Linked DNA regions of Homo sapiens: all the other regions are linked to region 3. The links are contacts of gene promoters, found by promoter capture Hi-C in blood cells and fetal thymus (Javierre and others, 2016). All regions are on one chromosome and are shown on one strand. Each heading gives the region's core, a stretch centred on a gene start or on the middle of the fragment in contact. The rest is flanking DNA. Distances are from core to core; before and after follow the strand shown. Region 1 has its middle 72 kb from the start of IGLL5. Region 2 overlaps BCR (BCR activator of RhoGEF and GTPase). Region 3 holds the start of RAB36 (RAB36, member RAS oncogene family).

The links. Contacts are between HindIII fragments. The CHiCAGO score rates a contact against its expected background, and 5 or more counts as called.
Region 1: a contact is called between a fragment that was not itself captured here and the fragment with the promoter of RAB36 in region 3, in 10 of 17 cell types (megakaryocytes, naive CD8 T cells, total CD8 T cells and 7 more). The highest score is 11.1, in megakaryocytes.
Region 2: a contact is called between a fragment that was not itself captured here and the fragment with the promoter of RAB36 in region 3, in 6 of 17 cell types (neutrophils, megakaryocytes, naive CD4 T cells and 3 more). The highest score is 10.5, in neutrophils.

The regions. Positions count from the first base shown.
Region 1 is chr22:22,957,801-22,962,680 of GRCh38, forward strand. No RefSeq gene overlaps it. Among named protein-coding and RNA genes, the nearest start is that of IGLL5, 72 kb to the left of the region's middle. The HindIII fragment of the contact is 1,860 bases long and covers 858-2,717 here.
Region 2 is chr22:23,271,918-23,276,768 of GRCh38, forward strand. BCR (BCR activator of RhoGEF and GTPase) reads left to right here. Exons shown (of 23, transcript NM_004327.4): 7 at 1,164-1,216; 8 at 1,717-1,857. Among named protein-coding and RNA genes, the nearest start is that of LINC02556, 52 kb to the right of the region's middle. The HindIII fragment of the contact is 8,216 bases long and covers 1-4,851 here.
Region 3 is chr22:23,142,398-23,146,968 of GRCh38, forward strand. It overlaps RAB36 (RAB36, member RAS oncogene family), which reads left to right and starts at 3,080. Exons shown (of 11, transcript NM_004914.5): 1 at 3,080-3,154; 2 at 4,208-4,288. The coding sequence starts at 4,220. It also overlaps a transcript of RSPH14 not described here. RefSeq lists a silencer at 2,833-2,902. The HindIII fragment of the contact is 8,574 bases long and covers 2,004-4,571 here.

The sequences.
Region 1 (4,880 bases), core at 538-3,037, 190 kb before region 3:
AGGTTAAAATGGGGATAGATATCAGCCAGTGAGAACACAGGCAGCTTTCTTTGGAATGGCCACTTCGGGGGTGGTGGGTGAGCAAAGAATGGATGCAGATGCTCTCTCCTCTCCAAGGAGCAATGTGGACTTCAAAGCCCACAAAGATTCGTGAGATTTATTCCTAGAATAAGTACCCTAGAGAAGCCCGCCCAGCAGAGTATAAAAGAAATCAAGAATTTCCGGTGGACCCAGAACGTGTCACAGCTTGGGGCCAAATAAATTACACTCCTGCAAATGCCTCGGGCCTAGCTCCAGTAAAAAGTGACAGGACAGCCATGTGTCCAAAAGCTAGTGCATTGCACAGCAAGGAGGAAACCAATTTCCTTTAGCCTTTGCTCCCCTAGAGACGTCATATGACCAGAGTGAGGTTGGACACTCAGCTCTCTATCTTTTCAAATAATTCCCCATCTCCAAGTTCATGGAAAGAGAGAAAACCATCATGTCACCATAGCGATGACTCCTCTAATGATGGTTCAGAGTGGAAAACTTCTGACTTCAAGGATGGCCTCATACAGGATGGACGTGAATGCTGGTCCTCAAAACCCCAATGTCACATTTTTAAAAATCTGACCATCCCTCAGTCAGTGTCAGGGGTTTTCATGTGGGAAACCTCAAAGAAGGTGAGAAGGCAGGGGAGGTGTAACCCACAGTAATTATTAATAAAACCAACATTCCAGGACAAACTACTGCTAAGGAGGTTGAATTTTTTTTCTAAATGATCCTTCACAAGTAAAATAAGGAACTGGAGTCCTTGGACTGATCGCTATATTATGCTAAATGGATGACAGAATACAGCTCAGGAGTCAAAGATCATAAGCTTCCAAGTGGCCACAGGGACAATAAGCCTTTCAGCCCTTGGGTAATAAAGTCAGACAATCTGGTCCAGCAGCCAGAAGATGGCTGAGCTGGAGGAACATCGATGATGGGACAGTCCCAGCGTCCGCCCTCTCTGCTGGAAGGACATTAGCTGCTGAGAATAACTGGATCCAAATTGTTAACGTGACCCCCCACTGCTCATGGGGATGAAGAAAAAGATCTGGGGTGATTGGAACCTTACAAAGCAGGGACACAGATGCTTTATGTCTTTCGAAGGTCTAGTTGTAAAAACAAGACCCGAAAGCAGCCTCTCGGTCTTTTCACTGCTGGCCAGCAAAACTGGGAGAGGACTATGTTGTGATGTCCCCAGGATATCCTTCATGATTGCCACCAAGATCTGCTGGGATAGGTGCCCAAGACCTGGAAGGAACACTAAACTAGAGACCCAGGGATGCACACACCTTGCATGTTCTCACAATGAGGCTAAACCAGACTCATCACCGAAGAAATGCCAGCCAACAGCCTGTGGACATGGATGCAGATTGACTATTCCAGCCCCTCAGTGAACAAGCTCCAAGTGTGTTTCCTTGTAAAGCAGTTATACAGGTCAAAAATCACTTCATCACAAATGAAATACGGTCAAACTACCACAAAACACAGGGCTAAAATATCTCATCACCGGAGGGTGCCAGAGACCACCAAATATAATCCAGATTCAAGGCAGTCCATGTGAAAATTGCCCACCAGGTGGCGGAAATGCAGGGAGACGGCCAGCATGTACAGATAATTTGTTTCCCGGGTCCACACATTATCTGATGAGAGTGAATCTGACCCTAGAAGAGAACTACACAACTACTTGGTTGCATTAGGGTTCAACAAGACTGTGCACGCTCCAAAAATTCTCAAAAAGGTCAAATCCAAGTAACAAGGGTTTTAGCCTATGAACCAAGGTGTGGCTAGAGAAAAGATTGTTTGAATTTGAAAAGAAGCTAGGAGGTTGACTCACTGGGGCATCTATCCTTGAGTCTTCCTGCAGTGGGAGGCAGAGTGAGCGGTCAGCTGGGCATCCACATCTAGAGTGTTGAAAACCTCCTGGGGGTGGAGACGGGGGACTTCCACTTCCAGAATGGGCAATTGTGTGTGTGTATAAAATATTTAAGATATATGTATTTATTTAAAGTCTCTAGAAATGGCCTTAGGGCATACAGCAAATAAAAAAACATTTAATTCAAGAACATCTATTAAAACCTGGCAAGAAATGGGAGGGTCTGTGGCATTTCAACCACGACCTGCTCCATTCCTCCCACTGCCAGCAAAATGTGACAGAAACTCCACTCCAGGTGGGTACAGCCAAGGACACAGCACTGTCTCCACCCAGCTCCCAGTCAAGGGCTATGGTATTTTCCCAAGAAGGAAAATCCATCAGCATTTTTCTTCCCACCCCAGCTACCTGTTGCAGAGACTAAATTCCAGGTGATTGTAGTAATCGGTTGAGGCTCTCTTCTTTTGCTCAGCCCCTACTTGTGGGACAAAAGCCCTGCCTTGGGTGCAACACACTGAGAATACTGGCACCATCAACCAGCTCATTTGTAAAGTAGAGGTTCCATGCTATGAGAAGCAAGCTGGGAATACAATAGACTCTCCAATAAGCACCCACCTCCTAAAGCAGGGGTGTCACTCAGAAAGTAGCTACCTACCACTGTCCCCACCCAGCCCCAGAGCCATAGCCAAAAGCTCCTGAAACATTTCCCCAAGAGGAAAGGCAGGACATAGAGAGCTCTAAAGCCCTTCCCGAATGAACTGACTTTATTTGCAAATGAGTACAAAGTTCAACATTAAGGGGACTTTCAAAACAATGAAGCTTGGGCAAAAAGCAATTGAGAGGAAACTGGTAAGTTCATTAGTGACATAAACTAGACCATAGGCCAGCTAGTTTATCAGAGAGAACCAGGAAAAGACATGGCTAAAAACAGACCTCTTGGGGTCAAAGCAAACCTCAAACACTGACCTCAAAAACTATCCCTGCAAATGAGCCTCAGTTTAATTGGATAAGTCATCTCAATAAAGGTGTTTTTTAAAGAAAAAAAACAGCAATAACAATTATACATTCTGGTCAACATGGAGTAACAGGAGCTGGATTTATTTTTAGGCCTGGAATAATTTTAAAAACAACACAAAATATTTAAGTCACTGGACATCAGGCAATGAAAGATAGTGGTTTATAAGAGATGAGAAATGAATAAGATGAGCCCCACGATTGCCCCAGATTACTGCATGGAGAGTTTCCAGTCTGAGGCTCAAGGAGGAGAGAACGTAACCACAGCCCACTGGCCTCCCCGAGTTGAAGAAACAGAGCTGCTTGGGATCCCAGGCCGCTGGAGTTCATAGGGCAGAGTACCAAAGAGGAGGGAGCTTAACAGAAAGAGAACTCTGCAAATACGAGAGTGTAAGTATTATACTGAGTAGTGATCAGTGTATGCATATGAGGAATGTACCTGAGGCCAAGAAAAAGACTACCCAAAAGCATTGAACAGAACAATCCCCAGAGAAAATTCAGGGCTGAAAATAATGCCTGACCTCATCAACAAGTACAGAAAATCTCATAATTCATTAAGCATCAGGTAGAGTACTCAGAGGAGTCTTCCTGATCTGTGGACAAAATTAACCATAGACTTAATGCTGTTGTGGTCTCATGTAAAAATGTTAAAAGAAAGCTGGGGATAGATTAAACTGTTTCAAAATAATTTAACTGTGTACCAGAACACAACTTAAGAATACAAAAATATCTAGCACCTGCAAAGATAAAATGCACAATGTCTAGCATTCAACTACAAATTAACATGCAGGCAAAGAAGTGGAAGAATATGATCCATAGTTAGGAAAATATCAGCCAGTCAAAGCTGATCCAAAATTGACATAGGTAATAAATAGATAAGGTCATTAAAGCAGTTATTATAATACTATTCCATATGTATAAGGAACTAGAGGAAGGATTAAACATTTTTGGCGAATGCACAGAAGGTTTTTTCTAAAACCAAATTAAACTTATAGAAAACAATGTGATGAAAAATACACTAGATGGAATTAATGACAGATTAGAAACTGCAGAAGAAAAGATTAGTGAACTTGAAGGCAGAGCAGTAGAAATTATACAAAATTATCAGAGGGTTAAAGGACTAAAAAAATAAAGAGAACATCAGTGACCTGTGAGATAAATGCCAGTGGTAAAATATATATGTGGTTAAAGTCTCTGAAAAAGAAGAGGGGATTTGAAAAAATAATGACAGAAAATTTTCTTAATGTGATGAAAACTGTATACCTACGGATTAAAAAAGTTCAACCAACCGTAATCACAAAAACATGAAGAAAACCATACCAAGTCACACTATGATCATCAAATTTCTTAAACCAACTCATCTAAGAGAAAATTTTAAGTGGCCAGAAGAAAAAAAATACATTATATGCAGAAGAACAAAGAAAAGGATGACAGCAGATTTCTCAGAAAAACAATGCAAGTGGCCAGGTACAGTGGCTCATGCCAGTAATCCCACCACTTTGGGAGGCCGAGATGAGAGGATAACTTGAGGCCAGGAGTTCAAGACCAACCTGGGCAACATAGCGAGACCCTGTCTCTACAAAAAAAAAATTTTTTTAATTAGCTGGTGTGATGGTGCATCACTGTAGTCCTAGCTACTCAGGAAGCTAAGGCAGGAGGATCACTTGAGCCCAGGAGTTAGAGGCTGCACTGAGCTATAATCACATCACTGCACTCCAGCCTTAGCAACAGAGTGAGACCCTGTCTCAACAAAATAAAAAATAAAAGACACAATGCAAGTTAGAAGAGAGTGGAACAATATCTTTAAAGAATTTAAAGGAAAAAAGTTCATCCTAGAATTATTTACCTAGCACAAATATCTTTCGAAAAAGAAGGCTGAGATTTTTTAGACGTACAAAAGCTGAATGTATCATTGAATTTTCACTATAAGAATTTTTAAAGAAAGTCTTCAAGCAAAAAGAAAATG
Region 2 (4,851 bases), core at 1,675-4,174, 130 kb after region 3:
CGGGTTCAAGTGATCCTCCTGCCTCAGCCTCCCGAGTAGCTGGGATTACAGGCACACACCACCACAGCCAGCTAATTTTTGTATTTTTAATAGAGATGGGGTTTCCCTCCGTATTGGTCAGGCTTGTCTGAACTCCTGACCTAAAGTGCCTTGGCCTCCCAAAGTGCTGGGATTACAGGTGTGAGCTACCGCACCTGGCAGTAACAAGGATTTTATTTTCTGTTTTTGCCAATGACAAGTTTGGTCATAAAGTAATCTGTGCAGAGCACAGGCTTTAAGTGGCTGGGCAGGAATTGAGTCCAGAGTTGCTGGGAAAGTGCTGTCAGGAATTGTCAGTCACTTCTTATTTTCAGTTGTTAGGGTGTTGTGAATAGTTACACTTGCAAAGAACAGCAGCCCCCGGAGCTTTGTCCTCCAAGCCTCAGTTTCCCTATCTGCAAAATGAAAATAGCGATGAGTGCCTTATGCTGGTTGTGGGAGTCTTGTGAAGAACATACTTGGCATGTCTCAGAACACACCTGAGCGTCTGTGCCTGGGACGGGCCACACTCACTGTCATCATGGAGAAGCACGGGTGGCTGAGGCTGGCCAGGGCTCCCACCATGCCAGGGAGTTGCTCCCACTGCAGTGGGGCTCATGTGCCTCTGGAGTCCGGGTGTCCTCGGGCAGGTCGCCAGAGAACCTGTCAAACCAAGAGTTGTATTGGCATCTGAGTAGGTTTCTGCTTGTCTCAGAGTCAGGTGTCTGAAATGTCCTGGGATCGATGGTAAGAGCAGCTAAGAGGTCTGCTCAGCTTACCCTCTGGGCTGGGGAGCAGGTCTCCCTCCAGAATTGGGGCCCACCCCAGCCCGTCCTTGCCAGGGTGGGTTCCCTGACCTCAGGCTAGAGGAGCAGCAGTGCTGAGCCTTTTCAGCTGTTGCCACCGAGCCAGCCATGCAGGCTCGGGTCTGACAGCCGCTCTGGACTCTGCATGCAGTGAATGTCCTGGACTTAAAGTGTTCCTGTTGGGTGCTCTAGCCTTGCCCTTGTCACTGCGCAGAGGGGAGATGGGGCCTGTGGAGGCTGGGGCAGCCCCCTCCCCACTCACCCTTGCACCGAGGGTGGTCAGGCAGCTGGTGTGCTTCTCCATGTGCAACCTCTCTCACCTCCCCTCTCTCTCCACAGCTCTGCTCTACAAGCCTGTGGACCGTGTGACGAGGAGCACGCTGGTCCTCCATGTAAGTCACAGCGCCCCTCTGGACCGGGACCAAAACTGCCCCCTCGGGCACACACAGCAACAATGTTCTGAGACCTTTTTTTAGTTGTCATAGCTGCAGCCAAGGGGGTGCTACTGGCATCTAATGGGTAGAGGCCTGGGGTGGTGTTGGACATTCTGTAGGGAAAGGACAGCTCTCTCTTGTCCCTCCACAAAGAGTTACTCCACGCAAAATGTCCACAGTGCTGAGGTTGAGAAACCCTGCCCTAGATCCTTACAGAGGAGTCCTTCTTGGCCATGTGCATGCAGCGTGAGTTTGCTGGAACACATGTAGGACCTGCTTCCAGGATGGTGCTCACACAAGCTCTGTCCACAAAGCTGGGGCCCAAGTGAGAGAGACTGTGGTGACACTGAGGGAGCCGGCGCTCTGGGCTCCGTCCACACTTTGTGTCTGCACTTTGCACACAGTGGCAGGTGCCAGTGCTCCTCTGTGTCTAACTCAAGTCTTTCTTCCTGGGGCAGGACTTGCTGAAGCACACTCCTGCCAGCCACCCTGACCACCCCTTGCTGCAGGACGCCCTCCGCATCTCACAGAACTTCCTGTCCAGCATCAATGAGGAGATCACACCCCGACGGCAGTCCATGACGGTGAAGAAGGGAGAGGTGAGTGTGGCAGGGGATGGCTTGGGTCCACCCATCCTGCTGAGCTGGGGGCATGCAGGGCCCCTCGATCTGAGGTCTGGAGCCCTTCCTGGTCCTCAGCAGACCTTGCCTTCTGGGATTGGTGAGATTGGCCGCACACTCAGTCCTGTGTGGAAGGTGTCTGGGTGCAGTCTCAGGGGTGACCCTGCAAGCACCATGCCCTCCAGGTGGCAGCCATCACCATGCCTCACTCAGCCACCTCTTTCCTTTTCTGTCATTGTGGGTTGTGTCCAGGGACCCCTTTTTTTTTATCCCCCACAGTCTTGCCAGCTCAGGCTCCCCAGCCAAGGAGACTTGTGCAAAGGAGGTGAGTAGGAGGATGGCATTTTGTCTGCCTGGAATCCTCCTACTTCCCCCTGAGTGCTTTCATTAAAAAACAGTTAACATCGGGTTTAAGGATTAGAAAGTGGGGTTCGTGGTTTGTGTCTGTGACGTGAGACTGGTTGAAGCACTTCACGTCTTCCTCCGGGAAGACTCTCCTTCCCCTTCCCCCCCGTCACTGATGTACTCTGTGTGCACATCATCGATGAGCAGGCATGGCCTGTGCCTGTGCCGCTCTGAGCCTTCCTAGGTGTGGCCTGGCACATAATGAGGCAGATGCATTCCCAGGCAGGTAGCAGCTACTGAGAACAGCCAAGGCGTGTAAGCTGGGGAGCCAGTGTCCAGGGGGAACAGCTTTTGTCAGAAGCAGCACTGAGGCGAGGGGAGCTGACCCCCGGCCTCAGGGGTCTCATGCAGGGACAGAAGCTGTCTGGCCCAGGCAGGACACAGGCTGGGCGTGAACCTGACTGTAGTTGCCTCAGAACCACCTCATGGCTGGGTGCGGTGGCTCACGCCTGTAATCCTAGCACTTTGGGAGGCCTAGGCGGGTGGATCAGGAGGTCAAGAATTCGAGACCAGCCTGGCCAACATGGTGAAACCCCGTCTCTACTAAAAATACAAAAATTAACTGGGCACGGTGGTGGGTGCCTGTAATCCCAGCTACTCGGGAGGCTGAGGCAGGTGAATCGCTTGAACCCAGGAGGCGGAGTTTGCAGTGAGCCGAGATCTCACCACTGCACTCCAGCCTGGGTGACAGAGTGAAACTCCATCTCAAAAAAAAAAAAAAAAAAAAAAAAGAGAACCACCTCCTTCTCTTTCTTCTGGTTCATGGGCCAGGTGGTCGGCACTGTACCAAGGACACGGGCCCTGTCCTCAGGGCCCCCAGGGTGGACCTGCCCAACACATGGGGCTTGCTTTCCTCCTCCTGCCCTGGGCCACCAGGCAGGCAGCTGTCAGCCCCATCTGCCACACACCACTTTGGGAATGGTACCCTGAGTGTCCAGAGTCTAATCCGAGTTGACCTTTAGTGAGGGACTTGGTCAGGTTTCTCCTGGTGGGCCTGGCCCAGGAAGGGCATGGAGGAGGAGGGAGCTGTCCCTTCCATTCCGCTCTCCGGCTTGTCCAAGCCCTGGAGCTGGGCAGACTCAGAGTCCCATGCCAGCATCGTGAGGACCGACCCACTGGGTGGCCTAGAGCTTCTCCCAACTGGGCCCATTCCTTGTCTTTGCAGCAGGGTGGGAACATGGCCCCACCTCATCGGGCACCTGGGCTGTCAAATGGGCATGATTTAGTGGCAGTCCTCGCCATCCGTGTTGGCTCCTTGGCAGTCTCTGAGCGCATTGAAGGCGGAAGTGGGTCCCCGGCACCTTCCAGTGGAGGCGTTGAGCAGTGCAAGTGTTCCCCAGCTGCTCATCCCATGGCTGGGACCTGGGAGTGGTGGGGGATCAGATCTTGCTTCTTGGAGCAACAACCGGGCCCTGCCCTTGGTTCTCTTCCCTGGCTCAGGGCCCCAGAAGGAGAGCAAACCTGTGACAAACCTGTGGGCAGTCCACACAGATCTAAGTGGATGTTGGATTTGCTTCTCCTAAGCCTCCACGTGCTGGGTGGGTTCCTGCCAGGTTCGCCCTACCCTCCTGAGATGCCTGCTCTTTCTCTTCTACCGACTATTCTTTTATGAGCGCTCTGACCTCCTGGGAAGTGAGTGTGGGCGTCCTTTTTCCCATGGCTTCTCCTGTGCCTAGTCTGCTCCCTGCAACTGCAGCTGCCATTTAGCATTCCTAGAGACAAGGAAGGGCCTTCTCAGTGCTCGGATCATTGGAATCCACTGCTTTGGGGAATTAAGGAAAACGCGATGTTGTCTAGAAGTTGACACCTAGGCCCTCGTTCCTGCATCCGTCCCCATGGGGGCCAACTTCCACGCTTACCCATGGTCATGTCTCGGGGCCACCAAGGAGGAAGTGTAATTTAAGAAGGGCTGGGTGCGGCTGGGCGCGGTGGCTCACACCTGTAATCCTAGTACTTTGGGAGGCCGAGGCAGGCGGATCACCAGGTCAGAAGTTTGAGACCATCCTGGCTAACACGATAAAACCCCATCTCTACTAAAAATACAAAAAATTAGCTGGGCGTGGTGGTGGGCACCTGTAGTCCCAGCTACTCAGGAGGCTGAGGCAGGAGAATCTCGTGAACCTGGGAGGCGGAGGTTGCAGTGAGCCGAGATTGTGCCACTGCACTCCAGTCTGGGCAACAGAGCGAGATTCTGTCTCAAAAAAAAGAAAAAAAAAAAAAAAGGGCTGGTTGCTTCACAAAGGCAGGGGCCTGGATCTGCATCCTCCCCAGGACCTCGCCCTGGTGGAGGGGCACTTGCTCATTGAGGAGGGGTCACCTGGGTGCCTTAGCTGCAAAGCAAGGTGGAGGACTAATGACTCTAGAAAAGTCACCGTGAGTCTGACCAGCACCCCTTCACTCAGAGCTTTCTATCCGAGGCACGTTAAGGGAGGTGGCTTGATGGTGGCTAAGGCAGGATGATAGATGCCTGTGCTTTGCCCCTGCCCCTGCCATTCCTGGGGCAGATGCTGCTGATCAGTTGGGCACTCCAAGCCTGGACATCCACCTCGGTATCCCCTGGCACTGCCC
Region 3 (4,571 bases), core at 1,830-4,329:
CTCCGCTCCACTCCGCGCCACCGCACCCAACCCGGGTGCAAGTGATTCTCCTGCCTAAGCCTCCCAAGTAGCTGGGATTATAGGCGGCCGCCATCACACCCAGCTAATTTTTGTATTTTTAGTAGAGACAGGGTTTCGCCATGTTGGCCAGGCTGGTCTCGAACTCCTGACCTCAGATGATCCACCCGCCTCGGCCTCCCAAAATGCTAGGATTACAGGCGTGAGCCACTGCGCTCAGCCAGTTTCCCCCAAATTACATAGGCCTGATCTCAAGACTGCCTAGCCCTGCCCATGCCCCTTGCTCTTCAGGCTGACCGCCTGGTAATGACAAAGGTTAGCCTCTGCAGTGGACCCAACACACTGCTGGCCAGCGTAGCTGTTCTCAAAAGCAAGCCAGACCCAGCCACCACCTGCATAAAACCCTCCATGGCTCCCCACTAGTCTCAGGGCTGAGTCCAAACTCCTAGCCTAGTGCTCCAGTCCCTGGGTGATGGCCTCCTCCAGCCATGCCAGACTCTCTCTTAACCCCTCAAATGCCACCTCGCTCATGAAGCCTGAGCGCTCTGTAACACTAATTATTACCTCTTTATCCTTCAGGATGCAACTTGGTGAACACTTCTTCCATGAAACCTTCCTTCTCCCTGAAGGAGTGAAGTATGGGCCATCCCAAAATATGCTGGATTGGTATATTGACCATTTTGAGTGGACAACATTGGAAAAATAGTGGCCTCAGAAAGGGCTAACTGGGCCAGGTGCAGTGGCTCATACCTGTAATCCTAGCACTTTGGGAGGCTGAAGGGGGAGGGTTGCTTGAGCCCAAGAGTTTGAGGTTACAGTGAGATATGATCACACTACTACACCCCAGCCTGGGTGACAGAGTGAGACCTCAACTCTAAAATAAATAAATAAATAAATAAATAAATAAATAAATAAATAGATATAATTTTAAAAAAAGATACAAGAAAAGGCAAACAGATATGCTTCTTTCTGCATTCAGCAAGCCATAAAGATTCCTCTAGGAGCGGTACCCTCACTGTACCAGGGCAAGAAAATAGCCCTTGTCACCTGAGACTAAGAATTGGGGACTGCAATGGACCTGAATAAATATACTTAACCCTGTCTTCCACTAAGTTTATGCCCCTCATATTATCTCCTAGTGAATCCCCTAGAATTTACTGCCCTAGCCAGATCCCCTTTGTCCTGCCATTTCTTCTCAAATTTGTCATCCTTTGTCTAAAAAGTATAAAAGCATCTTGCTTTGGCCACTTCTCTAGACTTCACTCTGGTAAAGATCCCCATGCGCATGTAAAACTAATAACACTTGTATGCTTTTCTCTTGCTAATCTGCCCAGTGTCAGTTTGGTTTCTAGATCTAGGCAAAGAGCCCACTTAAGAGCTAAAGGAGGATTGGGGCCAGGTGTGCTGGCTTACGCCTGTAATCCCAACACTTTGGGAAGCCAAGGCCGGCGGATCACATGAGGCCAGGAGTTCAAAACCAGCCTGGCACACATGGCAAAACCCCATCTCTACTAAAAAAATTTAAAAATTAGCCAAGCATGGTTGGTGCGCACCTGTGGTCCCAGCTACTCGGGAGGCTGAGGCAGGAGAATCGCTTGAGCCGGGAGGCGGAGATTGCAGTGAGCCGAGATCACACTACTGCACTCCAGCCTGGGCGACAGAGTGAGACTCCATCTCAAAAAAAAAAAAAAAAAAAAAAAAAAAACAGCTAAAGGAGGAGTTCAGGGTGATCTCTAGCTCCTGCCAAATCCCCAAATCCAAATTAGTAAGTGACCCCACAGCTTAATCTTCCCTTCTCCTAAATCCCATTGGCACACTCCCTTCCCCTAATTCTCTATTTACTTCTCTGCTTCCCGCAGTGGACTCCAATTTCCCTGAGGGTGGACACCATGTCCGTTCTCTTTCCTTGTCTCCCCAGTGCTAGGCATATACCAGGAAGCTTTCAGTACATGTAGGACAAATGAATAGTTAATGGACTTGAATCAAGCTTTACAGTATAAAAGCACTTTCACCATCTCAGGTGATCCATTGAAATAGATAGTTGCGTTTATTTTATAGTTGAGTAAACTGAGGTGCGGAAGGTGGAACAACTCACCTAAGTTCACCCCCTAAGCCTCAACCTTAGCAGTGAAACTCACTAAAAGACATTAAACAGAGCCAGGTGTGGTGGCCCTTGCCTGTAGTCCCAAGGACTGGGGAGGCTGAGGCGGGAGGATTCCTTGAGCCTAGGAGTTCGAGTCCAGCCTGGACAACATAGCAAGACTCCATCTCTTTAAAAAAAAAAAAAAAAGACATCAAACACCAGCCTCCAGCACACTTAGCTTTGAATTGAAGATGACTGAGTTAGATCTGTGTACCAAGGCTTCCATATTGTGATGCAGAAAAGTTAAGGAGCTGAATTAAGTAGGTTCTCAAACTGAACCCCGGACTTCGAAGCTGGTTCCACGGTTTTATAAGGGCCACAAGAGGCCATCTAGCCCAAAACAGCTAACTTTCCAAACCGAAACTAGTTCAGAGGAAATCACTGACTCAGGTCAGCTTTTTATTAAGGAAATTAATTTTGTACCGTGAGCTCTAGAAGCCAGGCATATGATATTCAGACAGCACTGGATTCAGAACTATGCAGACTAAGGTCAGTAGATGGTAGGCAGGTCTATCTTCTGCAGCTGCAGGGTGCTTGACTCCAATTAAACATCAATACCACATCAGGAGCTCTTATGCCATAACCGCCCAACCTCTCCCAGCCGAGCTGATCACCAGAACCTGCGCGAATCTCTCCACGGTCAGCCCCACCCAGGGCTCAGGCTCCGCCCCCGGGCCTCCATAGCCCCGCCCACCGCCCACCCATCCAGCACCGCCCTTGTTGTCATGGTGATCTCCGGCTCTCCAGGGTGTCCAGGAGTCTCTCTGCTGCCAGCCCCGCCCAGACTCCAGGCAGGTTCTCGTTGCTATGGTGATCGCCGGTGCAAGCTGGATGCTTGGACGCGCCGCTGCCAGTCCAACGCAGACCCCGCCCACGACGTCGACGATTCGTGTAGCCCGCAGGTCCCGCGTGGCTCTCGTTGCCATGGTGATCGCCGCCGCTGGCTCAGGCGGACCAGGCCGCGCGGAGCCCCAGCTTTCACAGCCATCGCTGGTGAGTCAGCTCGCCCACTCTGTCCGACCCTCCCGGTCACCCAACCCCGTGCTGGCACATCCCGAGGCCAGGGCCGCGAGGGCACAGCGTCCGCGCCCACTTCCCGCCCCTATAACTTGAAAGCGGCCTGCGGCCCCGGGGCGTCCTCATTTCCGGAGCGCAAACTCTGGGCCAGGCCCGCGCTGGTTGTGGAGGAGAGCCAGGTCAGATGCGGGAAGACAACCGGACTCCGCCAGGACCACCCCAGCCCAGCCTGGAGAGGAGTCCGGACAGAAAAAGGAGACAGAGGGGCTGTTGAGGAGGCTCGAGGAGTCAGAGGCCTGGTGAAGTGAGGGTTTTCAGGGAAAAGGCCTAGTTGGCTGAAAGTTAAGGCCCCCAGGCCCACCTAGAGCCTTCGTCCTTTGCAGACTGGGAGCAGGAGACCCCTCCCCACTCTACTTCCACTGCCTGAGCTGTGCCATGCCTCACAGCCCAGTAAGGTAAGCTCAGAGGGGAGCTCCTCCTTGGTAGACACCTGTCAAGGGGAGACCCAGGTCTTCTGACTCCCAGGCAGGGTGGGGCAGGCCTGGTTCCCCCATACCATGCTGCCTGCTGTATGCAGATTGAGAGAAATGGCCTCTGCCCCATATTCCTGACAGAGAGGGAAGCCTGGATCTGGTTTTATTTATAATTCTTGAGACAAGGTCTTACTCTATCACCCAGGCTGGAGTGCAGTGGCACCTTCACGGTTCACTGCACCCTTGACCTCCCAGGCTCAAGCATTCCTCCCACCTTCCTCCCAAGTAGCTGGGACTGCAGGCACAGGCCACCATGCCCTGCTAATTTTTTTGGTTTTTTTTTGTAGAGACTGAGGTTTCACTTTGTTGCCCAGGCTGGTCTCAACCTCCTGGGCCCAAGTGATCCTCCCACCTTGGCCTCCCAAAGTGCTGGGATTACAGGCATGAGCCACTGCACCCAGCCTGGATCTGATGAAAAGTTAGGTGGAAACTCATGGGTGAATCCCCAGGTATTTGCACAGCTCCTTAACTGTCTTTCTCCTGGTTGGGTCCACAGGACTGTGGAAGAATGAGGTCCTCCCTGACACCTTTGGGGCCCCCTGTGAGCCGCGACCGTGTCATCGCCAGCTTCCCTAAGGTAGAGAGTCATTACGTCTGCAGTGCTCTCCTGGCCCTGCAGCCACATCAGCTCTCCCCACTCTACACTCATGCCTAGAAGTAAAGCAGGTGAATCAAGGAGGTCTGTCCATTGTCAGATTTACCTTGAGGAGCTGGGAGACTGGTCACTGACTGCCCAAGGTGGGACCGCAAGTTAATGGTGACACTGGGCAGCAGTGTGGCCTGGAGGTTATAAGGGCTGGGATTTTGCAGCCAGACAGTCCTTGATGTGAATCCTTCATTCTGATTCTGTCATTAAGCTG